4 separate regions of the Homo sapiens genome follow, and all the other regions are linked to region 4. The links are contacts of gene promoters, found by promoter capture Hi-C in human tissues and cell types (Jung and others, 2019). All regions are on one chromosome and are shown on one strand. Each heading gives the region's core, a stretch centred on a gene start or on the middle of the fragment in contact. The rest is flanking DNA. Distances are from core to core; before and after follow the strand shown. Region 1 has its middle 34 kb from the start of PURB. Region 2 overlaps PURB (purine rich element binding protein B). Region 3 holds the start of LOC105375262 (a long non-coding RNA gene). Region 4 holds the start of NACAD (NAC alpha domain containing).

Region 1 (6,101 bases), core at 1,892-4,391, 170 kb before region 4:
TTTAGTAGAGACGAGGTTTCACCGTGTTAGCCAGGATGGTCTCAATCTCCTGACCTTGTGATCTGCCCGCCTCGGCCTCCCAAAGTGCTGGGATTACAGGTGTGAGCCACAGTGCCTGGCTTTTTTTTTTTTTTTTTTTTTTTTTTTTTTTTGAGACCTAGTCTTGCTCTGTCACCCAGGCTGGAGTGCAGTGGCGTGATCTTGGCTCACTGCAACCTCTGCCTCCCGGGTTCACACCATTCTGCTGCCTCAGCCTCCCGAGTAGCTGGGACTACAGGGGCACGCCACCATGCCCAGCTAATTTTTTGTATTTTTAGTAGAGACGGGGTTTCACCGTGTTAGCCAGGATGGTCTGGATCTCCTGACCTCGTGATCGGCCCGCCTCGGCCTCCCAAAGTGCTGGGATTACAGGCGTGAGCCACCATGCCTGACCTGAAGTCATTTCTAAGTATGGTGTTGGGTAAGTTCTACCCTTAGGTTCAAATACTCAGACTGGGTCACATGAAGAAAGAGAACAACATGAGAGTTATTTATTTGGCCTCCCACTGAGTAAGGCATTCTGTTAGGTCATTAGTGTTTATAAGCCAAGTGTGGCATTCTGGAAAGGTAAATAGGCATTTAGTAGGAGATAAGAAAAAAGTATCCCTGCTACCTTTTTTTTTTTTAGAGATAGGGTCTCACTGTGTTGCCCAGGCTGAAGTGCGGTGGCACCATCACAGCTTACTGCAGCCTCAAACTCCTAGGCTCAAGAGATCCTCCCACCTCAGCCTCCCAAGTAGCTGAGACTACAGGAATATGCCACCACACCCAGCTAATTTTAGTTATTTATTTATCATTATTATTATTATTATTTTTGAGATGGGCTCTTGCCCTGTCACCTAGGCTGGAGTGCAGCAGCACAATCATAGCTCACTGCAGCCTTGCACTCCTTGCCTCAAGCAATCGTCCTGCCTCAGCCTCCCAAGTAGCTGGAACTATAGGCACAGGCCACCATGCCCAGCTAATTAAAAAAAAAATTTTTTTTTCTGTAGAGACAGGGTCTGGCTATGTTGATCAGGCCTATCTCTAACTCCTGGCCTCAAGTGATCCTCCTGCCTCAGCCTCCCCAAGTGCCGGGATTATAGGCACAAGCCACTGTACCTGGCCAGAGACAAGTTCACAAACATTCTGAGGGTTCAGAGGGACAGGCTACTTCCAAATGTCTGGATTTTTTTTAAAGTTATGTAAACTATTTTATTTTTAAACTATATTGAAGTGTTTCAGAAGAAAAAAATGACCGTATTTAATTAGTCACTGATACGTAATTAGTTGTATTTTCCTTTGGGACAACATAGAATTTGTTTATTCTTCAATGGCTTCATATTTACAAAATACCAGTAAAAATAGTAAGGAAAGGGTTCAATCCACATAGACCATCACATACAGAATAACTAGCTGATTATTTATCTTCCAGAAATCTGGTAAGCACTGGTTTCTAAAACACAGGATATGCCAAATTCTGGTTACTAGCATCTTCATTCTTTATTGGATACATTTCTTTTGTTTAATCAATACATATTTGTACATATTTATGGGGTACATGTGATATTTTGTTACATGTATAGAATGGAATACTATTCAGCCATAAAAAAGAATGAAATCCTGTCCTTTGCAGCAACATGGATGGAAATGGAGATCATTATGTTAAGTGAAATATGCTAGGCATGGAAAGACATATATCACATGTCCTTTTTTTCATCCTCTCATTATTGAACATATCACATGTTCTTACTCATATGTGGGAGCTAGAAAAGTTGATCTCAGGCCAAGCACAGTGGCTCACACCTGTAATCCCAGCACTTGGGGGGCCCGAGGTGGACGGATCACTTGAGGTCAGGAGTTTGAGACCAACCTGGCCATATGGTGAAGCCCTGTTTTTACTAAAAATACAAAAATTAGCTGGGCGTGGTGGTGTGTGCCTGTAATCCCAGCTACTTGGGAGGCTGAGGCAGGAGAATCACTGGAACCTGGTAGGCGGAGGTTGCAGTGAGCCAAGATCGCACCACTGCACTGCAGCCTGGGCTACAGAGTGAGACTGTCTCCAAAAAAAGAAAAAAAAATTGACTGGGCGTGGTGGCTCACGCCTATAATTTCAGCACTTTGAGAGGCCGAGGTGGGCAGACCACTTGAGGTCAGGAGTTTGAGACCAACCTGGCCAACATGGTGAGACCCTGTTTCTACTAAAAATACAAAAATTAGCTGGGCGTGGTGGTACATGCCTGTAATCCCAGCTACTCAGGAGGCTGAGGAAGGAGAATCGCTTGAACCTGGGAGGCAGAAGTTGTGGTGAGCTGAGATTGCACCACTGCACTCCAGCCTGGGCAACAAGAGTGAAACTCCATCTCAAAAAAAAAAAGTGGATCCCATAGAAGTAGAGAGTAGAATGATAGATAGTAGAGACTGGGAAAGGGGTGTCAGTGGGAGGGGGGAAGAACACGTTGGTTAATGGGTACGAACATACAGTTAGAAGGAAAAAGATCTAGTCACAGTAAGGTGGCTATAGTTAACAACAATGTTTTGTTTATTTCAACGTAGGTAGAAGAGAGAACTTGAAATGTTTCCAACACATAGAAATGATAAATGCTTAGGGCAATGGATATCCTAAATACTCTGACTTGATCATTACATGTTCTATGCAGATGTCTGGGTTTTATTCTGATGGAGATGCCACTGGAGGTATTTCAGGCATTTGCACAGAAGTATCCCCCCACCATACCCCCTTTCAGAGCTGCACTTTAGAAAGATTGATCTAACAGGAATATGCAAAGTTAAGTAGAAAACAGAGAAACCAGAAGCAGTTAAGAAAGTGTCCTAAGAATTCACGGAGTGGAAAATCACCTAGATGTCTTTTATGGGAGGCGTATCCTGGGGAGCATCTGGAGAATCTAGGAGGAGCACCCTTGAGGACCACTCAGGAAGCACTCAAGAGGAACATCTACAGCTGGCTGGAAATCGCAGGGAGCATCTTTTTGCAGACTCAGTATGTGATTTGAGCAGGAGTGCTGTAGGAGAAATTGAAGGAGAAACCTCTCTAGCATCACATACATAACACCTTTCCCCTGTGGAAGGAGCCAGTCTTCCAGAGGCCCCACTTATGATATGGCAAAGCCAAAATTCTCATGGAGGACATCTGGTATCATGAGGATCCCATTGGAGCAAAATTCTTTTTTTTTTTTTTAGATGAAGTTTTGCTCTTTTTGCCCAGGCTGGAGTACAATGGCATGATCTCGGCTCACTGCAACCTTCGCCTCCTGATTTCAAGTGATTCTCCTGCCTCAGCCTCCCGAGTAGCTGGGATTACACCAGCTACTTACGCCACCACACCCAGCTAATTTTTGTATTTTAAGTAGAGACGGGGTTTTGTCATGTTGGCCAGGCTGGTCTCGAACTCCTGACCTCCGGTGATCCACCTGCCCTGGCCTCCCAAAGAGCTGGGATTACAGGCATAAGCCATCGCGCCCAGCCCATTGGAGCAAAATTCTATTCAGCCTACAAATCTGGTCAAAAGCTTTTGATCTGTTCAATCCAAGCTTCAAGCCTACCTGTCAATGCTTTGTGAAGTATATTGAGCTGCAGAAACTTAAAGAAACAGATGAAGAGAAGTTATTTGTAGAAACAAGGAAAGCTTTATTGGCAGAAAGTGTCATTTTAAGATGCGTAGGAGAAACAAGGACTCAACAGGAAGGTAGTCACGTTTCCTGGAAATCTGAACACATGATTGTCAGACCCCAAACTGTGTTGAAAGAAAACCAGCCTCAGAAAGAAAGAAGTTCCACAGGACCAGCATTTGGAAGCACCTGAAGGACAGTTAAAAGGTCTTGCAGCTCCGTGAAGGGTTTGTATATTGTGGATACTGACATACACACTCTACTCACTAGCTCAATGTTGAGCTGTTTCTAACAGTTGAACTACATAAACGTCTCTTGATCTTGAAGGCATTATATTTGCCTTCTCTTAGTCCTTACTTCTGAGTTGTCATAAAGCTCGGTATCATGGTTTGACAGAAGCAGTTATGATCCAGAGGATTTATATAAAAGAATAATAAAAACTGAAAAAAAAAGGAGTTATGTGAACTTTCATGGTAGGACATCATTAAATAAAGAACTCCAGCTGGGCGTGGTAGCTCATACCTGTAATCCCAGCACTTTGGGAGGCCCAGGCGGACAGATCACTTGAGGTCAGGAGTTTTGAGACCAGCCTGGCCAAGATGGTGAAACCCTGTCTCTACTAAAAATACAAAAAAATGGCCGGGTGTGGTGGCTCATGCCTGTAATCCCAGCACTTTGGGAGGCCGAGGTGGGTGGATCACCTGAGGTCAGGAGTTTGAAACCAGCCTGGCCAACATGGTGAAACCCCTTCTCTACTAAAAATACAAAAAAATGGCATGGTGCGGTGGCTCATGCCTATAATCCCAGCACTTTGGGAGGCCAAGGCGGGTGGATCACTTGAAGTCAGGAGTTTGAAACCAGCATGGCCAACATGGTGAAACCCCTTCTCTACTAAAAATACCAAAAATTAGCTGGGCATATTGGTGGGCGCCTGTAATCCCAGCTGCTCAGGAGACTGAGACAGGAGAATCGCTTGAACCTGGAAGTCGGAGGTTGCAGTGAGCTGAGATCGCACCATTGCACTCCAGACTGGGCAACAAGAGCGAAACTCTGTCTCAAAAAAAAAAAAAAAAAAAAGCAAAAGCAAAACAAAACAAAAAAATTAGCCAGGCGTAGTGGCACATGCCTGTAATCCCAGCGATTCTGGAGGTTGAGGCAGGAGAATCACTTGAACCTGGGAGGCAGCAGTTGCAGTGACCTGAGATCATGCCACTGCTTTCCAGCATGGACAGCAGAGCAAGACTCCATCTATAAGTAAATAAATAAATAAAATTCCCTAGGTGCTTAAAAACAAAGGAAGAGGAAAAAAAAGGAGGTGCATCTAACATCTAGGAAGAGCACCTGGGGGAGCACCTACTGGGAGCACCTGAAGGAGCAACTCAAGGGCCACTGGCAGGAACCTCCGGGAAGCGCAGAAGGCATGTGTGGGGAGAGATTGGTGGGGGTTGGGTGTTCTTACCTACTGAATGGGCGGGCTAGATCAAGAGGTGACAACCTGGAAGAGAAATGGGGCTAGAGACAGGCTGGCTGTAAACCAGTGGTTGTCGAGGAGATAGCATCAGTGAGGGAGGTGCCCCAGTGGGAGAGCCGCCCTGAAAAGGGAGGAGGGTGTCTCTCCACTGTTGAGCCAGAGCCACAAAGAGGGTTGACTCTGCCATAGAGCGGCCTTTCTTCCCAGCTATTATGTCGGCTCTGCAGGGACCCTCACACTTGATGAGTCAAGGGGCTTGTGCCTTACTGAGCAGCCAGAGGGATCCCTCTCTGAGACCCTCAGACCTGCTCCTTGCCTGACCAGTGCCAGCCCTCCTCCCCTTCCTCACCAGGGGATGGCTGAAGCATGGAAAAGTGGCCGGCAGCAGATGGTTGGGGGTGGTGGTGGGGGGCATGGGGACTCAACGCCCTGGGTTGCTGAGTCCTGTGAGACCTGTGGCCCCGGGACACCCCACCCCAGGCCTGGGCTCTCAGCAAGAATGCCATGTGGAGCCTGTCAACTAGCCCGTCAACTAGCACTCTCGCGCCCCCTGGTGGCCGTCCCTGATGAGGTGGGTATAGGACATGGTCCCAGTGAGAACTTGTGGCAATCCACAGTTCATGCCTACGTTCATTCATTCATTCATTCTTGAAATATTTGGGGAGTACCTGCAGGCCTCCGAAGCTCTATGCTGTCCACTCTGGCACCCACACGTGCTCTGAGCACTTGAAGTGCAGCGAGTCCACTGGAGAAGTACAGTAAGTGTAAAGAGTACACTGGCCGTCAAAGACATAGTGCACACAATGTAAAATGTAGTATCGATCATTTTCATATTGATGATACATTGAAATTATAATGTTTTAGATCAACCATTTTAAATAAAATATGATTACAATCAATTTCACCTGTTTCTTTTTTACCGAGACCAGCTGGGTCGGGGAGACCCTAACCTAGTGGTGCTAGAGGAATTAAAGACACACACA
Region 2 (7,164 bases), core at 577-3,076, 210 kb before region 4:
CTCTAGAACTGCTAAATCAGAAACTCAGTAATCCATGTTTTAACCAGCCCTCTAAGTGACTCCGATGCATGCTAAGGGTTCCTCTGTGCTAGTAAAACCCCAGATTTTCCCAGGGAGGGACTACTAATATCAATACTGAAGGATTCCATTTACAAACTTTTCTCAAGATGAGTTATTTTAGAGGTTTAAGTGGTAATTTAGGCACAGTGGTTGGGAGGTGAAAGCCATACATTCAAGGAATGTTCTGCTATACTCTTTTGTTTTCCTCTGGCAGAGATTCCCAACCCTTTTCCCTTCTTTATACCTTAAAATCCCACAGGCCACTGGTTTCACCCCTGACTGTAGGCTAGAATCACCTTGGGGAACTCAAAAAGGCAAAGCATTACCAAAAAACTCCATGTCTGTGTCTCAAAGATTGATTCAGTTGGTCTATGGTGGTGCCTGGGCATCAGTATTCAAAGCTTTCCAGGTGGTTCTGCAGCCAGCATTGAGAACCACTTAAGAGATTGTAGAAATGGACAATCACAGGAAAGTTATGTATGTTGTGTGTTGGGGGGGCTGGGGGCGGTGTAGGCATTTCGTAGCAGGAGCTTCTAATATAAAGAAAATATACGAGAACTAAAGGATTAAGCTATCTATACATAAAAAACCATCCCTCATTTTCAGAAAGGCACTATTTACTTATTAGTCTAGTTAGTGGTTCTCAAGAGTGTGATCCAGAATCCCCTAGGGTTGCCCGAGACTCAGGAGCCCAAGAGGTCAAAACTATGTTCATAAGAACATTCGCATTTTCCACTTTCATTCTTTCATAAATTTACAGTGGAGTTTTCCAGAGGCTATGACATTATCATGTAATTGCTCTGATAGCTGATGGAATGTGTGCTTGTTATTTTTGTCTGGAAAATGTTTCAGCTTCTTGGCCGGCGCGGTGGCTCACGCCTGTAATCCCAACACTTTGGGAGGCTGAGATGGGTAGATCACGAGGTCAGATTAAGACCATCTTGGCCAACATGGTAATACCCTGTCTCTACTGAAATACAAAAAATTAGCCGGGCGTGGTGGCACGTGCCCGTAATCACAACTACTTGGGAGGCTGAGGCAGGGGAATCGCTTGAACCCAGGAGGCGGAGGTTACAGTGAGCTGAGATTGCGCTGCTGTACTCCAGCCTGGCGACAGAGCAAGACTCCGTCTCAAAAAAAAAAAAAAAGTTTCAGCTTCTAAAATGGTATCTACGGATAAAGCCTAGAAAGATAAAACCTCCTTGGGGATATTCAGTAAATTTAATTGTAAAGGGGTTCCTGAGACCAACCTGGCCAGGATAAATGGACACAATTCAGTTTTTTTCTTAAACATTAGGGCAAGAAAAGGCTGCCCTAATTTACCTCCTAAGCAACTACAATGTTGATAAACAATGAATGAAGACTTAGCAGTTTCTTTCAAGCCATTGTAAATGATGGAAGAAATTAAGGGAACCAAGTGGCTGTCTAGGTTATCAACCAAAGCATAAAATTAATTTGCAGTTTTGATTTACTCCACAAATTGCTTACTAGAAAAGGGTTACGGCAACCCAGAAGTTCTAGAACAGGCTATAGTTCAGATGAAATGTGCAATGACTTAAGTCATTTTAAGTGGGAACTCCTGATTCCATACCCATTCGTGAGCCCCAACAGATGGGATTTCCCTCCCCTATCACCACATAATTACTTAGAGACACAAGCACAAGATTGTCATTCACTTTTCTGCATACTTTATTTGTTACAAACATACAATTTTTTTTAAATATAGACTGTAAAACTCCATTTGCAAAAGTCTATTGTAAGGAGTGCACACCAGCAGGAAGGATTCTTACATTTTTTCTCTGTGAGTTTTTCTGTCAGTTTTGCTAGTTAGTGGTAAATACGGGACCCGCCATTTTTACAGACCAGTCTGAAGCTTCTGACTGTATTCACATTGCTCTTTTGAAGCAGCCCTGCTCCTCTCAAAATTGATCAGAATCTGAGCTTCAACCTACAGGCAGTGAGATCAACAGCCCGTCTGGACTCTGCTTTTGAACGGTTTTCAGGAAGTGTGATTTCTGAATGGGTACTGCACTTCACAGATTTGTTTGAATTGCCCATGCAGCTCTATGTTTGTTAAAGTGCATTCTTCTTTAAAAAATAAGAGGAATAATCTTTACTCTTTAACCAAGGTACTTAAAAAAATGAACTTTTTGGTCTCTCAGCAGATATTCCCAAATTGATCCTATCACTACAAATTTTAGTGTTTTATTTACAGACATTTATAGGGTTACAGGTGGAGGGGACCTTATAAAATTAAAGGTGCAGCTTCTCTTGAAGCAGAAATCAGTTCTACAAATTCATACACAGGAATACACACTTGGTTTACAATGCATAAGCATGTGGGTATTTACACAGAGATTGAAGACATCCCCAAAAAACACATTTTAAAGTAATTTCCAACCTAAACTCTAATTGTACATCTAGATCAGGAAGCTGTCTCCTGCTATCAAGATTTGGTTTTAATTCATTCAAATTATTTCTGTAGATTCTCTACTGGCAGGACATCAGTCCCAGCTTTGGAGTGAATAGTCTAAGAAAGCCACTGGTAGATACTATGATTGGCAGTGAAGATTCCTATAGAACGGAAAGTATGTTATCTGGAAACAGAAGACAAATGAATTTTAAAAATGATCTTGGAAAAACATCTGGATGGAGGCCCAAAATAATAAATCCCTACTATAATTGTTTTAGAACTTCAAAAAAAGAAGTCCAGATACACTGACGATCTTAGTTACTATTCAAATATTGGTAAGTCATTGAAAAATAACTCAGATTTACTTGTCTACCGAAACGTGCAAAACCATGGACTCTTTATAAGTACGTCCCATACTGACTTAAAGCCAGTTTCTAGACTTTTTGGTCAACCTACTGACTTTTAGAAATTCAGAGAGTAGGCTAGGCGTGATGGCTCATGCCTGTAATTCCAGCATTTTGGGAAGCTGAGGCGGGCAGATCACTTGAGGTCAGGAGTTCGAGACCAGCCTGGCCAACATGGTGAAACCCCGTCTCTACTAAAAATACAGAAAATTAGCTGGGCATGGTGGCACATGCTTGTAATCCCAGCTACTTGGGAGGCTGAGGCAGGAGAATCGCTTGAGCCCGGGAGGCAAAGGTTGCAGTGAGCTGAGATCAAGCCACTACACTCACTCCAGCCTGGACGATAAGAGCGAAACTCCGTCTCAAAAAAAAAAAAAGAATCCAGAGAGCTTTTGTACACAGGGATGACACATGTGGGCTGGAACAAGGGTTTATGTCTAATATCTTATCAGTTCAAAATGAAACTCCCAAATTCCTACAACACAAATGTGTTTAATGATATAATCCAGTTCTTCAGTTCTCTTGGGACTCTCCCTGCAGTTATGTCTCTGAAAAAGGAATTTTACAAGAGAATAAACAAACCACTCACCATCCTATTTCTAAATATAAAGATTCTTCCAACCAGCCTGATCTTGCAACTCAGAGTTAAGACTGGGGACGAAATATTTGGCTTTAAGAAATAAGAGATGGCCTAAATGGATATTTTGGAAAAAGTTAGCTATTGAAGTGTTATTTAAGGTAAGGGGGAAAAAAGGACAAACTCATGCCTTCTGCAATATCCATCCTAGTGGACACTGAATAGGGCTATTGCTTTCTTTCCAATACTCTGGGCCCACATTTCATCATACTAAAAAGACATAATTAGTTTTCTTACCCATGTCAATGGATATTAGATATAACACAAGGAAAATGAAATTTGCTTCTAGACTCAAAATCTGTTGACACTTAAAGTATAATTATACTTTTTTATTAAACTGTTAGAATCATCTATGGAGAAAAATGAGTTTTAGCTTCCAATAAAGCTCTGCTCTTATTAGAAATCATATTGAGCAGTGAAACTACCAATATGGCAGTTGCTATTCTATTGTTTTAACATGACTCTACCTATCCCAATTGGAATGTCTAATTCAAGAGACATGAGTTAGATTTTCAAATTAAATGACTGTGAATAGAGGTGATTACACTGATGGCATATTCCCTATTTCTTTAGGAAATATAAAATACATTCATAAAGGCCTTACTTGGATCAGGGGTACAGATATCAATTGGGAATCTCTAAGGTAATAAGTTTTCTTGATGCGATTTTATTATTTTTTCATTTTCCAAATCTAATTTTCAGTACTGATAATTGGACAATTTTCAAGTAAGAGTCTGTTAAATCCGTCAGTAATAAAACTGAGTTTTAAGACTGAGGGCTGGGAAAGGAGACTTTAAATAGCAAAGTCAGACATATCAAAAGAAATCATTATTCAAGAGTCCAGCTATCTGCTGAAACTTCTGGGGGGCTAATACTTGAAAATTAAGGACTTTGTTTTTTCTAAGTTAAAAATGGGGGAAATGAAGTTATAATCTGCCATTTCCACCTTACATTTGGAATTTATTTATTTATTTTTTGAGACGGAGTCTTGTTCTGTTACCCAGGCTGGAGTGCAATGGCGCGATCTTGGCTCACTGCAACCTCCGCTTCCTGGGTTCATGCCATTCTCCTGCCTCAGCCTCCCAAGTAGCTGGGACTACAGGCATGCACCACCATGCCCGGCTAATTTTAGTATTTTTAGTAGAGACGGGGTTTCACCATGTTGTCCAGGCTGACCTGAACTGACCCGCCCACCTCAGCCTCCCAGAGTGCTGGGATTACAGGCGTGAGCCACCACGCCCGGCCGCATTTGGAATCTCAAATGGAGCATATGACACATACTTTATTCTTTTTTGTCTGTATTTTCTTAAGGTAAATGTGTTTTTTTTTTTTTCTTTTTTCTTTTCTACAAACTATCTCCCGCCCTCCCCAGCCCCACCCACACACCCATTATCCAGTATACTGAATGGGAGTTGTAACTCTTTAGGAAGACAGCTAATTGATTTACAGTACTCTAAAACCAACCCTGAAAACTGATAATCTCATTCACTTACTATAACTTCAGTGCTGTAGTTGACAGGAAAGAAAAAGTTACCTTAAGGCTCAAGGGAAAGTAACTTATTAAATTGTGAATGCAGCATTATTTACTCTCCCATCCATTGGAAACTAGCAAAATGCATTCTGGATCAATAATACAAACCTTCTAACATTAGCAAAGATTTCTACTCTTCTTACACAGAGTTAGAACAATATTCATAAGCAATTATCTAAGGGAGCCTGAGAAACTATGATCCACATCACACAAAGATTTCATGTATTTCATGATCAAAAAGTGCTTTATCTTTGAGAAATGTCAGGGTTACAATGGAAATATACAATGTAAAGTCACTTGATATTTTTTCAAGTGAAGTACAAAGTAGAAAAGGAGCAAAAAGATGGAGGCTCTGCTCTCTGAACAGGCCTTATGCATGTGACTTTTAGGGTGTACGAAATTAAAGTTGTTTTAAGAATTAAAAATAGTGGGACTTTACACCACTATATTCTAAAACCTGAGATTGGACATCAAAACAGTCAACTTTGTTATTCATCAGAGCAATTCTGATACTTCCTAAAAATATAAGATAACTCAACTGAATTAACTCCAGGGTCAAAAACATTAACTTTCCCCAATCAAAAAGGAGACCGATCACTATATACCAAGAGTGCTGCAGAAAGACAAACTCTCAGCAAATGAGTCATTTCTACATAAGCAAAAAAGTCACTTTTCTCCTTCCCTTTCTCACTGATCAAGGCCACACTATTTTCAAATGAATATCTACTGAGAGATCAGTTGTGCATTGGATAAAGTACCATAATTGGGTTAAAAATGAAAACAAAATTTACAGTGAAGAATACTTATGTGCATGGCTTACACACTCCAGCTTCTCAATTTCATCCACCTCAAGAGCAAGATAGATGCAAAGTCACCTTGTGTAGATTACATTCTACACCCCTGTAAAGCCAGTCAAGGTCACATTTAACAAAGCATCTTCAGCAACTACAGTGCCTGAAGTGTGCAGCCGTTTACAGACCACTCAATATGAGGGCATTATTATAACCAGCCTCTTTTGCCCACAACCCTGCATCTTCAGATAAGACAGGATAATTGTTTTGTTTTGAGAAAACTGAAGCTTAAATCTCTTAAAAGACCTGCAATTTACTGCAAAGTAATCCAGAGGTAACAAAGGAAGCAGGAGGTTAACGGCTGCCTGCACCAAAAGCCTCTCAATCATTTTGCAGTAAATAATTATGGAAAGTGATGTGACAAGTAGCCATGTGTGTATCACAGCTACAGTCATTTATACCACGTATATGCCTCCGATAGTTACATAGGGTGTTTGGGTTTTTGGTTTGGTTTTCACTTTGATTTTTGGTGCCATACAGATTTATATTTTGTTCTTGTGCAGCATATGCACTGAAAAACTTGCTGCTGTTCCACTTGCTGAAATGATAGGGACAATAGAAACCAAAACCAAAACATAGAAGGAAGAGTAGTAGGATCTCTTCACAGATTTTTATTCTTTTGATTCTGTTCCTAAAATTTGGCTTTTCACCTTTGTAACTATGGTAGTTTGGGAAACAAACCTTCTAACAATTATATGAAAAGAAGTTTTAGTTTCCTACTTCTCAGGAATATGACTATTTTGATTAGCTGGGATGTTTGCCAAGCTTAAAAAAAAAGGCTCAAAATCATTCATAGCAACAACTGAAAAACAAAAAAATTGGTTGTTTCCCATGTCTGTACAATGCCATTATCTGACTGGAATTAACAAAGACCATTTCCTTTAATAAGCTATTAATAATATTTACGAATGAATCTGTGTTTTGCAGGTTTCTATTGTCCCTAGTGACTGGAGTGAAGATCAGTGAAATGCTACAATTAATCCACAGCCTTCTGCAATCTTCCTGCAGTGGGAAGAGAGGCCATGAACCATCCCTTGCAGGAGAAACAAACCTTAGAGATTGGTTAAGACTTAAAAACCCACCACTATGACATTACCACTTAATCTTACATAGGCAGGTCAAAATTTTAATATAAATTACTTTTGCCAACACATAGCTTATGCATTCTTTGCTCCTTTTTTTGGAGGATTTTCAAATTGATATCTAAAGATTTACATATGATATATTACTGTTACATGGTCTAATGACTAAGAAAATTTCTCTGGTAA
Region 3 (6,851 bases), core at 139-2,638, 190 kb before region 4:
CTTAGGGTCAGGGACTATCTCTTATTTTTGTATCTTCGTTGTAAACACTCACTAAATATTTAATGGAATTAAATTGAAAAGTAGTACACAATTTTCAACTTTCCATTCATTAAACATGAAAATGAACGCACATTAGACAATCATAACTGAGTTTCAACAGAACATCCTGATGATGTCACTATGTTTCTTCTCCTATTTAAAAATGTGTTCTTGGCTGGGCGTGGTGGCTCACGCCTGTAATCTCAGCACTTTGGGAGGCTGAGGTGGGCAGGTCACGAGGTCAGGAGTTCGAGACCAGCCTGGTCGACATTGCAAAACCCCGTTTTTACTACAAATACAAAAATTAGCTGGGCATGGTGGTGGGCGCCTGTAATCCCAGCTACTCGGGAGGCTGAGGCAGGAGAATCGCTTGAACCTGGGAGGCAGAGGTTGCAGTGAGCCAAGATCGTGCCACTGCACTCCAGCCTGGGCAACAAAAGCAAGACTCCATCTCAAAAAAAATAAATAAATAAAAAATAAAAAATAAAAATGTGTTCTCCTTTGACAAATATGCTTTTATTGTAGAAAATTTTGAAATTTCAGAAAAGAAACAAAATAAGAACATGTAAATGATTCAGAATGCTGCGTGCTACACAGAGATATTAGTGTCTAGCCTTCTGAGTTTTTCCTATGCAAAATTTTAAATGCAAATTTACACATATATGGGTGTATAAATATATATATGTATATATATTTGTATTACATAACTAAGATCCAACCATGCATACTGATGTGTAACATGAAATTTTTATTTTATGCACAGGATTAGACTGATCAAAATCTTTGGTTCATGATACACTCTCATTGTTAATCCATTTATTCATTCATTCATTTGCTAATAATGTTTTCATAAAACTTCTTGAATTACCAGCCAACTCAAGAACTAGAACACTGACAATAATTCAAATCTACTATATGTCTTCCTTCCATATTTTATTCTTCCCCCACCTCTCAGGTGGCCAAAATCCTAAATTATTTTTAAAAAATCATTTAGTTTTATTTTTTAAACATTATAAAAAGAGAATCATATTATACATTGTATTAGTCAGCGTTCTCAAGAGAAGCAGAACCAATAGGATATCTATCCATCTGCCTTTTTTTTTTTTTTTTGAGATGGAGTCTCACTCTGTCACCCAGGCTGGAGTGCAATGGTGCAATCTTGGCTCACTGCAACGTCCACCTCCCAGGCTCAAGAGATTCTCCTGCCTTAGCCTCCTGGGTAGCTGGGATTACAGGCGCACACCACCACGCCTGGCTAGTTTTTGTATTTTTAGTAGAGACAGGGTTTCATCATGTTGGCCAGGCTGGTCTCGAACTTCTGACGTCAGGTGATCCACCAGCCTTGGCCTCCCAGAGTGCTGGGATTACAAGTGTGAACCACCGAGCTGGGTGTCCATCTGCCTATCCATCTATGTATCTATCTGGGAGATTTCAGTAAAGAATTGGCTCACAGGCCGGGCACAGTGGCTCATGCCTGTAATCCCAGCACTTTGGGAGGCCAAGATGAGTGGATCACTGGAGGTCAGGAGTTCGAGACCAGCCTGACCAACATAGTGAAACCCCATCTCTACCAAAAATACAAAATTAGCTGGGTGTGGTGGCGCATGTCTGTAATCCCAGCTACTTGGGAGGCTGGGGCAGGAGAATCACTTGAACCCTGGAGGCAGAGGTTGCAGTGAGTGAAGATCACGCCATTGCACTCCAGCCTGGGCAATAAGAGCGAAACTCCATCTCAAAAAAAAAAAAAAAAAAGAATTGGCTCACATGATTATAGGGGCTGACAAGCCCCAAATGTGCAGGACGGATTGTTGGGCTGGAGATGCAGGGAAGAGTTGATGTTAGATGTTGCAGCTTGAGTCTGAAGGCCTTCTTGAGGCAGAATTCCCTCTTTGGGAACTTCAGTCTTTTCTCTTAAGGCCTACAACTGATTGGATGAGGCCCACGCAATATGGAGGCTCATTTGTTTTCCTCAAATGCTACTGACTTAAATGTTAATTCATCTAAAAAATACTTTCACAGTAACAAGACTAGCGTCTGACCAAAAACTGGGTGCCATGGCTCAGCCAAGTTGATGCATAAAATTAACCATTACATATGCTTGATGGACTTGATTTTTTTCACTCCACATTATGGTTTAAAAGTTTACCCATGCTTTTTGTGTTTAGCTAAAGTTAATTAATGTTCACCACTGTATACTATTTCTTTTCTTTTTTTTATTTTTTAGACAGAGTCTCACTTTGTTGCCCAGGCTGAGTGCAGTGGCGTGATCTCGGCTTACTGCAACCCCCGCCTCCTGGGTTGTATATTATTTCATCATGAGCAAATATCACCACCATATCATCTGCCCATGGGCATAGGGTTGTGAATGTTCTCACTCAGTGGAACTTGTCTCCTGCGGCAGATGTGTGGGGCTTGTCATAGGTACGCACCTGAGAGTGGTTTTCTGAGTTGTCAGGCATGTGAATTTCAGAGTTTGTGAGAAAATGCCCAGTGGTTTTCCCATATCATTATAACTTTTCACTTCCCTCATGTATATATAAGTGATGTCTTTAATCCAGAACCTTTTCAGCTCTTGGCATTGTCAGATTTTTAATTATTGCCAGTGGAATGAATGAAAAGTACTATCTCTTATCTTGGTTTACATTTCCCTGATTACTGAGGAGGCCAAGCATCCCTCTGAGTGCCTGTTGGCTGTATGTGTTCCCCCTTTGGTGAAATGCCTCTTCATGTCTTTTGCCCATTTAAAAAAATAGGGCTAGGAATTCTGTACCTGTTCTTTTTTTTTTGAGTCGGAGTCTCGCTCTGTCGCCCAGGCTGGAGTGCAGTGGCGCGATCTTGGCTCACTGCAACCTCCGCCTCTGGGGTTCAAGCAATCCTCCTGCCTCAGCCTCCCGAGCAGCTGGGACTACAGGCACCCACTACCACGCGCGGCTAATTTTTTGTATTTTTAGTAGAGATGGGGTTTCACCATGTTAGCCAGGATGGTCTCGATCTGCTGACCTCGTGATCCACCCACCTTAGCCTCCCGAAGAGCTGGGATTACAGGCATGAGCCACTGTGCCCGGCCACATGTTCTTTAAATATTTTTTTAATTAAAAGTTTGTTGGCTGGGCGTGGTGCTCATGCCTGTAATCCCAGCACTTTGGGAGGCCAAGGCGGATGGATCACCTGAGGTCAGGAGTTCGAGACCAGCCTGACCAACATGGAGAAACTCCGCCTCTACTAAAAATACAAAATTAGCCGGGCATAGGGGCACATGCCTGTAATCCAAGCTACTAGGGAGGCTGAGGCAGGAGAATTGCTTGAACCTGGGAGGTAGAGGTTGCGGTGAGCCGAGATCGTGCCATTGCACTCCAGCCTGGGCAACAAGAGCAAAACTCCGTCTCAAAAAAAAAATTTTGTTTTGTTTTGTTTTGTTTTGTTTGAGACAGAGCCTCCCTCTGTCACCCAGGCTGGAGTGCAATAGTGCGATCTCAGCTCACTGCAACCTCTGCCTCCTGGGTTCAAATGAATCTCTTGCCTCAGCCTCCCAAGTAGTTGGGATTATAGGCATGCGCCACCATGCCCGACTGATTTTTGTATTTTTAATAGAGACGGGGTTCCGCTGTGTTGACCGGGCTGGTCTCAAACTCTTGGCCTCAAGTGATCCAACTGCCTCTAATTTTTAATTTTTTGAGGACAGAGTTTTACTCCGTCACCCAGGCTGGAGTGCAGTGGTGTAATTACAGCACTGCAGCCTTGAACTCCTGGGCTCAAGTGATCTTCCTGCCTTAGCCTCCTGAGTAGTTGGGACTACATGCATGTGTCACCATGCCTGGCTAATTTTTATTTTTATTTTTAAATTAAATTAAATTTTATTTTATTTTGAGACAGAGTATTGCTTTGTCGCCCAGGCTAGAGTGCAGTGGTGCGATCTCGGCTCACTGCAACTTCCACCTCCTGGGTTCAAGTGATTCTCCTGCCTCAGCCTCCTGAGTAGCTGGGATTACAGGTGCCCACCACCACACCCAGCTAATTTTTGTATTTTTAGTAGAGATGGGGTTTTACCATGTTGGTCAGGCTGGTCTGGAACTCCCGACCTCAGGTGATCCACCCACCTTGGCCTCCCATAGTGCTGGGATTACAGACGTGAGCCACCATGCCCAAGCCTAATTTTTATTTTTTAATTTTTTGTAGAGACAAGGTGCCCAGTTGCCCAGGTTGGTCTTGAACTCCTGGACTCAAGTGATCCTCCTGCCTTGGCCTCCCAAAGTGTTAGGATTACAGGTGTGGGCCACCTCACCCTGCCTGTACCTGTTATTAGTGCAATCATTTGTTGATTATGTCTTCTCTTATTTGTAGCTTATCTTTTATTTCCTTTAGACTATTATTTAAAAACATTCTTTAAACATTTTTTAATTGTAGTAAGAACACAATGTATCTACCCTCTTAACAGATTTTTAAGTGCATAATACTGTATTGTTAACTATAGGGAAAATGTACAGAAGATCTCTAGGGCTTTATATGCATTGATTAGCAATTCCCCTTTTTCCCCTGCCCCTAGCCCCTGGTAACCACATTGTAATGGCTTATTTCACTTAGCATAATGTTCTCAAGGTTCATCCGTGTTGCTGCATATTGTAGAATTTCCTTTCTTTTTAATATGTCATTGGATTTACACACCACATTTCCTTTGTCCTTTCATCCATCAATGGACATTTAGGTTATTTCCACAGCTTAGCGATTGTGACTAGTATTGCTATGAACAGTGAGTGCAGACATCTCTTCAAGATCCTGATTTCAATTCTTTTGGATAAATACCCAGCAGTGGGATTGCCAGATCATATGGTAGTTCTGTTTTTAATTTTTTGAGGAGAGGTCAAAGCAGGTGTATCTCTTGAGCCTGGGAGTTCAAGACCAGCCTGGGCAACATGGCAAAACTCCGACTCTACAAAAAATACATGCACACCTGTAGTCTCAGCTACTTGGGGGGCTGAGATGGGACGGTCAGTTGAGGCCAGGAATTCGAGACCAGCCTGGGCAACATGGTGAAACTCTGTCTCTACTAAAAATACAAAAATTAGTCTTGGCAGGTGCCTATAATCCCAGCTACTGGGAGGCTGAGGTGGGAGGATCACTTGAGCCCAGGAGGCAGAGGTTGCAGTGAGCAGAGATCATGTCATTGCACTCCAGCTTGGACGACAGAGCGAGACTCTGCTTAAAAAAAAAAAAATTTTTTTTTGAGGAACCAAACCTCCATACTGTTTCTATAGAAACTGCATGAGGCTCTTCAGGATATTCTTAATAACAGCCTATTAATTTACCAATATATCACAAAGGATGTACAGTGTATCACTGAATTCCCGGTTCTCGTCTCAGAATCACCCAGTGAATCTGTCACATTCTGATTTAATTACCTGGGATGAAGCTGGGGCATTGCTATGTTGCAAAAGTTCTCCAATTGAGTCTAATGTGCAGCTGGAGTGGAGAACCATGAACCACTTCTAGCTGTTGAGAGGCTCCTCAATTTGAGTAAGAAATAAAGAAAATGTGTATTTATTAAGACAGCACTCAGGCAGTTTCAGCAAGGTGGACGGGGAGTGGAGCATGAGCATGGGAAACCTTCCAGCATCGAATCAACTGTGTAGAAGCTGAGAAGGATGCACCTGCAGGTGGGAGCTGGGAGGTAGGCCCTGGGTCCCGGTGACTCTTTGGTGTAGTTTACAGCTGAGCAGTTCCCGCCTGCTTCTCAGCAAAGGTCCCTTATGCATCTCTCATGTGCTTCTCCCACTCATCTTGCAAGACTCTGAAGTGTGAGTGCCATCTTTTCAGTTAAGTGAGCAGTATATGGAAACTTTCTCATGGGAAAGAACCGCATGTGGCGCACCCTGGACGTCACTCCTTGGCTGGTCCTGGATGCCCACCTCACCCCACCACACTCATGCCCCTCCCAGGAGGCGCCTTCTTGACAGTGTGGTCCTTCCTGGCTGACAATGACTTGGGTTTTCGTCGCCTCAGTTCCTGGCAGAGCTGTTCCCGTGCCCCGGTGCCACTGTGTGCACCTGCTTTAATCACCTCCCACTGCAGCTTCTGTCCTGCCACCCCTTGGGCTTCCTGATCTTTCCTTCATGCTTGCCCTTGAGCATCTTATGGCCTCTTTGAGCTTTCACTGTTTCTGCAATGGGGCCATTTCCATATCGACAGCTCTAGTGTTTCTGTCACTACTGGATTCTCCCATTCGCTTTGTGATGCATCATGGCTCTAGCTACACATCCTGCCTCTGTCTCAGACTCCATGTGTCTGTGACCAGCCCCCTGACTCCCTCCAGCCACTCACCCTGGCTGTCCCCACCATCAGGGGCCTGGCCACACCATCTGCTGCTGAGCTGCAGGACATGGCTGATCAGAAATGGAGCACAACAGTCAGGGGCAGAGCCCATTGACCAAAGCCTTGAATATACCATGATTTCCAAGATGTGTCTTGCTCTTCTGTCTTCAGAGTACAAAAAGGTAAACTCCTCTCAGGCAAGGATTCTACTTTCTCTCTTTTTGATAAATTAGCAGCATAGTTATTTTCCTGCTTGCTAGGTTAGATAAGCAGTGAGATCTGTCACCTCTTTGTCCTCCTCTGGTTGAATTGCTTCTTTAATTCAAGTTTTAGTTTAGGAGGTAGAACTTTTTTTTTTTGTTTTTTTGAGACATGGTCTCATTCTGTCGCCCAGGCTGGAGTGCAGTGACACGACTACAGTCCACTGCAGCTTCTACCTCCCGGGCTCAAGTGATCCTCTCACCTCAGCCTTCTGAGTAGCTAGGACCACAGGTGCACACTACCAT
Region 4 (6,917 bases), core at 3,638-6,137:
CAGGCTTTGGGGCTGACGAGAGATCTGTGTCTTGTAGGGGCAGAGGCGGTGTCATAGCGGAGTCCTGGGGTAAGGTGAGGCCCTCTTCAGCCTGCTGGGACACAAGCGTGGCTGCAGCCACAGGCTTTGGGGCTGACGAGAGTTCTGTGTCTTGTAGGGGCAGAGGCGGTGTCATAACGGAGTCCTGGGGTAAGGTGAGGCCCTCTTCAGCCTGCTGGGACACAATCGTGGCTGCAGCCACAGGCTTTGGGGCTGATGAGAGATCTGTGTCTTGTAGGGGCAGAGGCGGTGTCATAGCGGAGTCCTGGGGTAAGGTGAGGTCCTCTTTAGCCTGCCTGGGGACAATCGTGGCTGCAGCTACAGGCTTTCTGCCAGAGGGGAGGTCCAGCCCTCCTTCTTCCTTCAAGTTCTGAGGAGAGTCTGGACACAATGTGAGGCTTGTTTCTTCCTGTGGAGTTGGAAGTTTTTCTGCAGTGACAGACTCTTGGCCTAAGATCTCGCTGATGCCCTCCTGGGAGGGCTGAGGCATTGCCATGGCAGCAGATTCTTGTCCAGCGGTGGAGTCTGTTTCTTCCTCCCCAGCCTGTGGGGTCACTCTGGTAGCCACCTCCACCTGGAGGCCTGGGGCTACCTGCAGAGTGTGAGGGGTCACAGTGGCAGTGGACTCCTGGCCTAAAGCAAGGCCCTCTTCTGTTACTTCTGAGATCAATTCCTGTCTCTGGGACAGATAGGCCCCTCTGTCTGAGGTCTGAGGAGCAGCCTCCACGGCCCAGGACACAGTCCCATCCTGAGCCTGCAGCCCCTTGGCCCCACCTCCGCTCTCCTCCTCTGTCTTCTGGACACTGTCCTGGAGCAAAGTGGCCTGGGCATGGGGCTCCCCGCTGTACAGCCTCTCATCATCTGCCTCTGCGTAGGAGGCTGAGTCTGAATCAGAGGAGGCTGCAGAGGTGTCGTCCCGGAAGGCAAAAGCCTCGTCCATGCCCTCCGTGATGGACAGGTCAGACAGTGACTGCAGGAAGGAGGCAGACGTGCTGTCCTCCTCACCCTCCCCAGCCAGGTCCCCACCTGGGTCGGGATCCGCCACAGCCTCCTCTTCTTCTTCCTCTGGGGATAGCGGTGTCACCTCCACTGCCTCCACCTGAAAGATGAGGCTGCCCTGGAAGGGTAGGAGGGCTGCGGGGATCATTGGGTCATTGGCCAGGAAGTCCAGGTCGAAGAAGTGGCCCTCCTGGCCCCAGGAGGAGCTGCTGTCTGCAGAGAGGCTGGACTCAGAGGACGGGGGCTCTGGGGTCCCTGCTGGGTGCAGCTCTCGTTCATCCACCATGGACCCCTGCGGGGACAGGCCCCAGCCTGAGGGGAAGTCCAGCCCTTCAGCCGGAGCCAGCAGGCTGAGGGAACAGGAGGGTGAAGAGGCCCAGCTGTCCCCATCGGCCGTAATGTAGGAGCCCGAGGGTGAGGCGGGGGGCGAGTCCAGCAGCTCATCCCGCAGCTCAGCCTCTGAGTCCCTGGCGTCCCCGTGGGGCCCACAGGCAGGAAGCAGGGCATAGGTGGTCTTGGTGGGGGTGGAGGGAGGCGTGAAGAAGGAATCAGGGTCTGGGGGAGGGGAAGGCACAGAAAGATCACCCTGAGAACACAGCTCGGGGGGTGGGTCTGGGCTTGCGTGCCCACCCTCCTGGTCCCTGAGCGCTGTCCGGGCAGCTCTGGGTGACAGGAGGGCCTGGCACGTCTCCTCTCCCATCACAATCCGGGGCTCCAGGGTGGCCGGGAGAGGAGCCTCCGTGGACAGAGCCTGGGAAGACAGGCCCTCAGGGAGGAGCATGGGGCTTGGGCCGCCCTCCCCTGGGTCCGCCCAGGCCGAGGGTGCCCCACCAGGCCCTGCATCCCAGCTGGCTCCCTCGGGCTGGGGCCGGGCACCCGGCTTGCTGGGCAGGAACGTGAGGGCCAGGTGGCTGGGCCCTGGGGTCAGAGCACAGGGCTCCCGCCGGTCCCCTCCCAGGATGGTGGTGGCAGCGGCCGCATCGCAGGACAGATCTGTGGAGATAGAGAAGATCATGAGGTGCCCCTGGATGCATCTCCCAGGCAAGGGCCAGGCCCGGGGAGATGAATTCCGGCTGCATAGGGCCCAGAGGAAGGTGGATCCAGGAAGGCAGGAGAGAAAAGAGAAGACCCTCTGCACGCTGCGTTTGAGGGAGAACTTCCAGGAGTTTTGACAGCAGAGAGCAGATGCTAGTGGTTTCCTAGAGAGGGGTTTTGAGGGAAGTGTTGCTGGGAGTCATGAACAGACCTGTCTGGCGGCTTTTCTCAAGGACACCTCAGCAAAGAACTAGCATTTCAGCCTCTCTGGGGAGACTGGATTGCAGTTTCCATTCCACAGAATCAGTGTGGTTCAGCTGGGCTCGGTGGGAGGGGCTGGTGGTGGGAATCTGCCAGGCAGTGCCAGTCCCATCCCATGACCTCCCAATAGATGCGCCACATGAGGCAGGTGGCACCAGCACGACGCGCGCAGCTCGAACACTCTGGGCTTCATGCCTCGCTCTGCCTCCTCTCTCTGCTGTCCTTGCTACCTACACTTGAGGCCAACATGTCAGGGTTTCACCAGGCCCCTCTGACCCTGCTCCCCTCCTGCACCCAGGGAGATGGGGAAGCCAGGGGCCACCACACGCAGCCAAGTTTCTGGAGAACAGAGATGAAGTGTCCCGTGGAGGCTTTGCTGGAGCATCTGGCCACAAGGGCAGTGGTGGGCAGGAACGGAGACCATGGAGCCCAGCAAGAGCACAGGACAGCTTCAGAGGGCCAACAGCAGCCTCTGGCTGAGTCCTCTCCTTGGTGGCAGCCACCCCATGGGTGACCACCAGTTCCTTCCCGGGTGCTGGGAGTTCCCACCCTGCCCTGTGGGCCTTCTCTGGGTCCCATGATGCACTCCCCCAACCCGCTGGGCAGGCTTCAGTATGAGGAGGCTCTGGTACTCAGTAAACGTCTGTGAGCTAACACACCTCCAGCTGAGAAAGGAGTCCATAGGAAGTAGCCCTCATGGGTCAGAAAGGACTTAGGGGACTCAGGAAGATGGAAGAAAACCCCTCCGAGGTTGCGGCACACCAGACCGCTATGGTTTTCTGCCTCCTGGACTCTTACTGGCCTGTATTTTATCACAGGCGAGATCACATTGCACATTCAGTTTTGAATCTAGCTATTTTCACCCAACCTAATCTCATAAGCATTTTCCTGTGTGCTCTAAATGCTCATAAGCTTCATTTTAAATGTCTCCATTATGTCCACTCCCTCACTTGGACCTAGGCCAAAGGCACCTCTGTTTGAAGCATCCAATGAAGGCCCTTCAGAGCCCAGGCCAGGTCTTGCCCAAGGTGGGGGAGCGGCGGCACACAGGGGCCAGCTCTCCAGGCTGCAGATGCCTGCCTGGTGGCTCCTGCTCTCCCGCACTCACTGGTGACCAGGACAACATCTCTTGCACCTCAGCTTTCTCATCTACAAAGCAGAGCCAGGATTAGAGTTGAAGCTGAAAGAAGGGGGACCCTGTTGCCAGGCTGCTCCAGCTCCCCTCAGCAGCATCAGAGCCCTGAGCCCTGAACCACCAGCCAAAACTTGTCACCCAAGGGCTTTGCTGCTGGGGTGATGGGACATCCAGGGGGTCCTGAGACAAGGGGGTCCTTTGGGTTCTTGCATGCCTGACACCCAACATCAGGAGTGGGCGTGGCTGGTGGGGCATCACTGGGTGCCCTGAAGCTGGGCTCTTGGTTCTGGCCCCTGGTGTGGCCCCCAGGGCAGGGGAACGGCTGAGCTGTTGGGATGGAGCAGAAACCAAAGGCCAAAGGTTTTTATAACTCATTCAAGGTCACCAAGCAAGCCAGAACAGAGCCAGCACAAGACCCTGGGGCTGGGAAGTCTGGGCCTGCACTCCCTGCCTCCCACCTAGAGCAGAGGCAGCAGCCTGTGTCACCCCAAACCAGGCCCCAGGCCCCAGCAGTGGTCCCATCTCTGGGTGACTTCTTGCCCACAGCAAGGTGCCCTTGGCCCTACCCACACATGGCTGACCTCCACGCCAGGACTGTCCAGGCTCGGCTCTTTCTAGGCCCCGTAGACCCCATCAGCCTCCACCAGCATTTGTTGACCCAGCCTAAGGACAGGTGGTCTGCACACCCAGGGCCATTGCTAATCAGGCCACCTCCCCCAAGGCCTTCCACCTTCCAGACCCAACTTAGGCTTTATTCCACCACCTGGCCCTCCATCCGGGCTTCCTAGGCTCTGGCCAGTCCTGCTCCTCCCTCCAGAGCCATGACCAGTCGCCGGCCCAGGACAGACCGGGTGCAACTGAGGACCCTCCCGGTGGTCACCTGATCGTACTGGGGGTATCAGCCGGACACCCCGCCTCCAGAACCCGCTGCCTCTGTCCAGAGCGGCCCAGCCCCAGCAGGCTGGCAGCTCGGTGCAAACAACGGGATGCAGCGGGCGGGATGCGAGCCCCACGATCCCTGGGTCGGAAGCCAAGGGCTTAAGCCCCCACGTTCTTTCTGGCTCGCGGCGGGCACTTCGTGCGCCCCACCTTCCCCGCAGTTCTGAGAGAGGCGGTAGCAGGGTTCAGATGGAGGGAAGGACAGGGCGCGGAAAGGGGAGGGGACTCGAGGGGGGCCAGGGGGATGGGGGAGAGGGGTGAAAGGTGAGCGATGGAAAGAGAACCCGGGCTGGAGAGGGGAGAGGCTGAAGGCAGGGAAAGAGTGGCCACGGCCTCACCTGTGCGGGGCCCGGGTCGGTCCGCCTCGGGCAGCAGCAGCTCGGCGCGGGCAGCCTCCCCAGGCATGGCCTGGCCGTGCGCCCGCCCGTCCCTCAGTCCTTCCGACCCTCCGTCAGTCCGTGCCGCCGCCCCGCCGAGCCTGCGCGGCCACCGCCCCTCGGCCGGGCGGTGGGGGCAGTGGGTGACGTCAGGCCGCCCCGCCCGCCTGTCCCAGCGAGTGAGCGTGCGCGGGCTCGCCAGGCACTGCGGAGGGCGTAGGGGGGGCTCCCTCCCCGCCCCCACCCCACCCGGCTGTGGCCTCCCTCTCGCTGTGGGCGGTTTCGTGGGGGAGCGGGGGTGGGCGCCTGCGCCCGGTCCCACCCTTTCCACAGCATTTACGAGGGAGGGTTTCAGGGCCAATTGGAAGCTGGGTTGCCTCAGGGTGGCATTCGCCCGTGGCCAGGAAGAGGCGGGGACGCCCCTAGAACCCTGGTTGTGGGAGGCTGGGGAGGTGGTTGGGATTCTGGGATGCTCGGAGCGCTTTGGGTGGAGTTGGCGGCGCAGCCTCCTTCCCCGCTGACCAAGCAGAGGGTGCAGGGCCTGGGGAGGGAGGGGGCCCCGCCCAGCCCGATGCCTCCATGCAAAAGGTGAGCTGGAGCTGCAGCTCTGGAGTGATTGGCTGGTCCTGGCAGTCGTCGGTCTCCGTGGCAACCGCCTCCTGTCTCCATGGCAACCAGGGATGGAGCCGACGAGAGCGCACCAGGGAAGGCGACCCGGATGGGTCGGTCTCCAGGTCTCTAGGCAACTCGGTGATCTGTCCTATCATCTCCCCTCCACCCCCACACTAGGCAGTAGAAGGAAAAGGAAGAAAGTGTTTCCCTCTATTCCTGGCAGCACCCTCTGCCACACCTCCCAGGAGGAAGCCCGCCCCGTGAATTTCCTGAAATGCCTCTTGCTTTCACACAGGCTACTGCGCCACCCAGATTCACTGAGCACCCCTCCTCCCCCGTGCCAGGCACCAGGGAGACAGATGAATGAGACATTGTCATCACCCCTGACTGGGGTGGGGGGAATCAGAGTAGCCATTGTCACAGGCAGGGAGGGAGGTTTCAACATCCTCAGTCTTCTGTGGGTTCTAACTTTGAGCTCATGAAGCCAGGGGCTGCCCTCTGACTCCCCCAGACCTGCCTCAAGGCTCAGTGCTACACACCTGGCTGCCTGCTGGGCATCTCTCCCCGCTGTACCCCAGGAGTCAGACACACCACACCATTAGAATTAACATCAACTTCAAACAATCTCTTCCAGAAAACAAAAGAGAAGGGGACACTTCCTAACTCATTTTATAAGGCAAGAAATATCCTGATGTCAAAACTAACAATGTGTCGCCAGGCGCGGAGGCTCACGCCTGTAATCCCAGCACTTTGGGAGGCCGAGGCTGGCGGATCACGAGGTCAGGAGATCGAGGCCATTCTGGCTAACGTGGTGAAACCCCGTCTCTACTAAAAATACAGAAAATGAGCCGGGAGTGGTAGCGGGCTCCTGTAGTCCCAGCTACTCAGGAGGCTGAGGCAGGAGAATGGCGTTAACCCGGGAAGCGGAGGTTGCAGTGAGCCGAGATCGCACCACTGCACTCCAGCCTGGGCGACAGAGCGAGACTCCGTCTCAAAAAAAAAAAAAAAAAAAAAAAAACTAACAAAGTGTCAATACACCCCAAGACCCCCAAAACGAAAACTGCAGACCAGCATCTCTCATGAATTCAGGCACAAAAATTCTCAATATTGGCAAATCAAATATAATGATGTATAAAAAAAATACACCATGACCAAGTGGAATTTATTCCACGTATGCAAGGCTGGTTTGACAGTTGAAAATCAATCAACAATACTCCAGAACACCAACAGGCTAAAGAAGAAAAATTTTGGTATCAGTTGACACAGAAAATGTGTTTGACATAACCAACATCATTCATGATTTAAAAAAAAACACTTTCAGCAAGTTAAAAATAAACTTGATAAAGATCTTATATAAAAAACTTATACAGCTAACATCATACTTAATGGTGAAAGACTGAATGCTTTTTAAGATTGGGAACAAGGCAAGGGTGTCCGCACTCACCACTCTTTTCAACATATTATTGGAATTTCTAAACCTTGCAATAAAGCAAGAAGAAATAAAAGGCAGATTGACTTCC

Evidence for each region. Contacts are between HindIII fragments. The study calls those that stand out against the background at their distance.
Region 1: a fragment that was not itself captured here is called in contact with the fragment with the promoter of NACAD in region 4 in 1 of the 25 tissues and cell types used here (aorta).
Region 2: a fragment that was not itself captured here is called in contact with the fragment with the promoter of NACAD in region 4 in 1 of the 25 tissues and cell types used here (spleen).
Region 3: a contact is called between a fragment that was not itself captured here and the fragment with the promoter of NACAD in region 4, in 1 of the 25 tissues and cell types used here (dorsolateral prefrontal cortex).

The regions. Positions count from the first base shown.
Region 1 is chr7:44,916,619-44,922,719 of GRCh38, forward strand. It overlaps the pseudogene MRPS23P1. Among named protein-coding and RNA genes, the nearest start is that of PURB, 34 kb to the left of the region's middle. The HindIII fragment of the contact is 4,290 bases long and covers 997-5,286 here.
Region 2 is chr7:44,874,568-44,881,731 of GRCh38, forward strand. PURB (purine rich element binding protein B) reads right to left here. Exons shown (of 1, transcript NM_033224.5): 1 at 1,732-7,164. Among named protein-coding and RNA genes, the nearest start is that of MIR4657, 3.6 kb to the right of the region's middle. RefSeq lists a silencer at 3,103-3,397. The HindIII fragment of the contact is 4,404 bases long and covers 1-4,028 here.
Region 3 is chr7:44,899,466-44,906,316 of GRCh38, forward strand. LOC105375262 (a long non-coding RNA gene) reads left to right here and starts at 5,236. Exons shown (of 2, transcript XR_927228.2): 1 at 5,236-6,527. The HindIII fragment of the contact is 4,747 bases long and covers 1-3,762 here.
Region 4 is chr7:45,084,082-45,090,998 of GRCh38, forward strand. It overlaps NACAD (NAC alpha domain containing), which reads right to left and starts at 4,888. Exons shown (of 8, transcript NM_001146334.2): 1 at 4,747-4,888; 2 at 1-2,031. The coding sequence starts at 4,813. The HindIII fragment of the contact is 12,529 bases long and covers 1-6,917 here.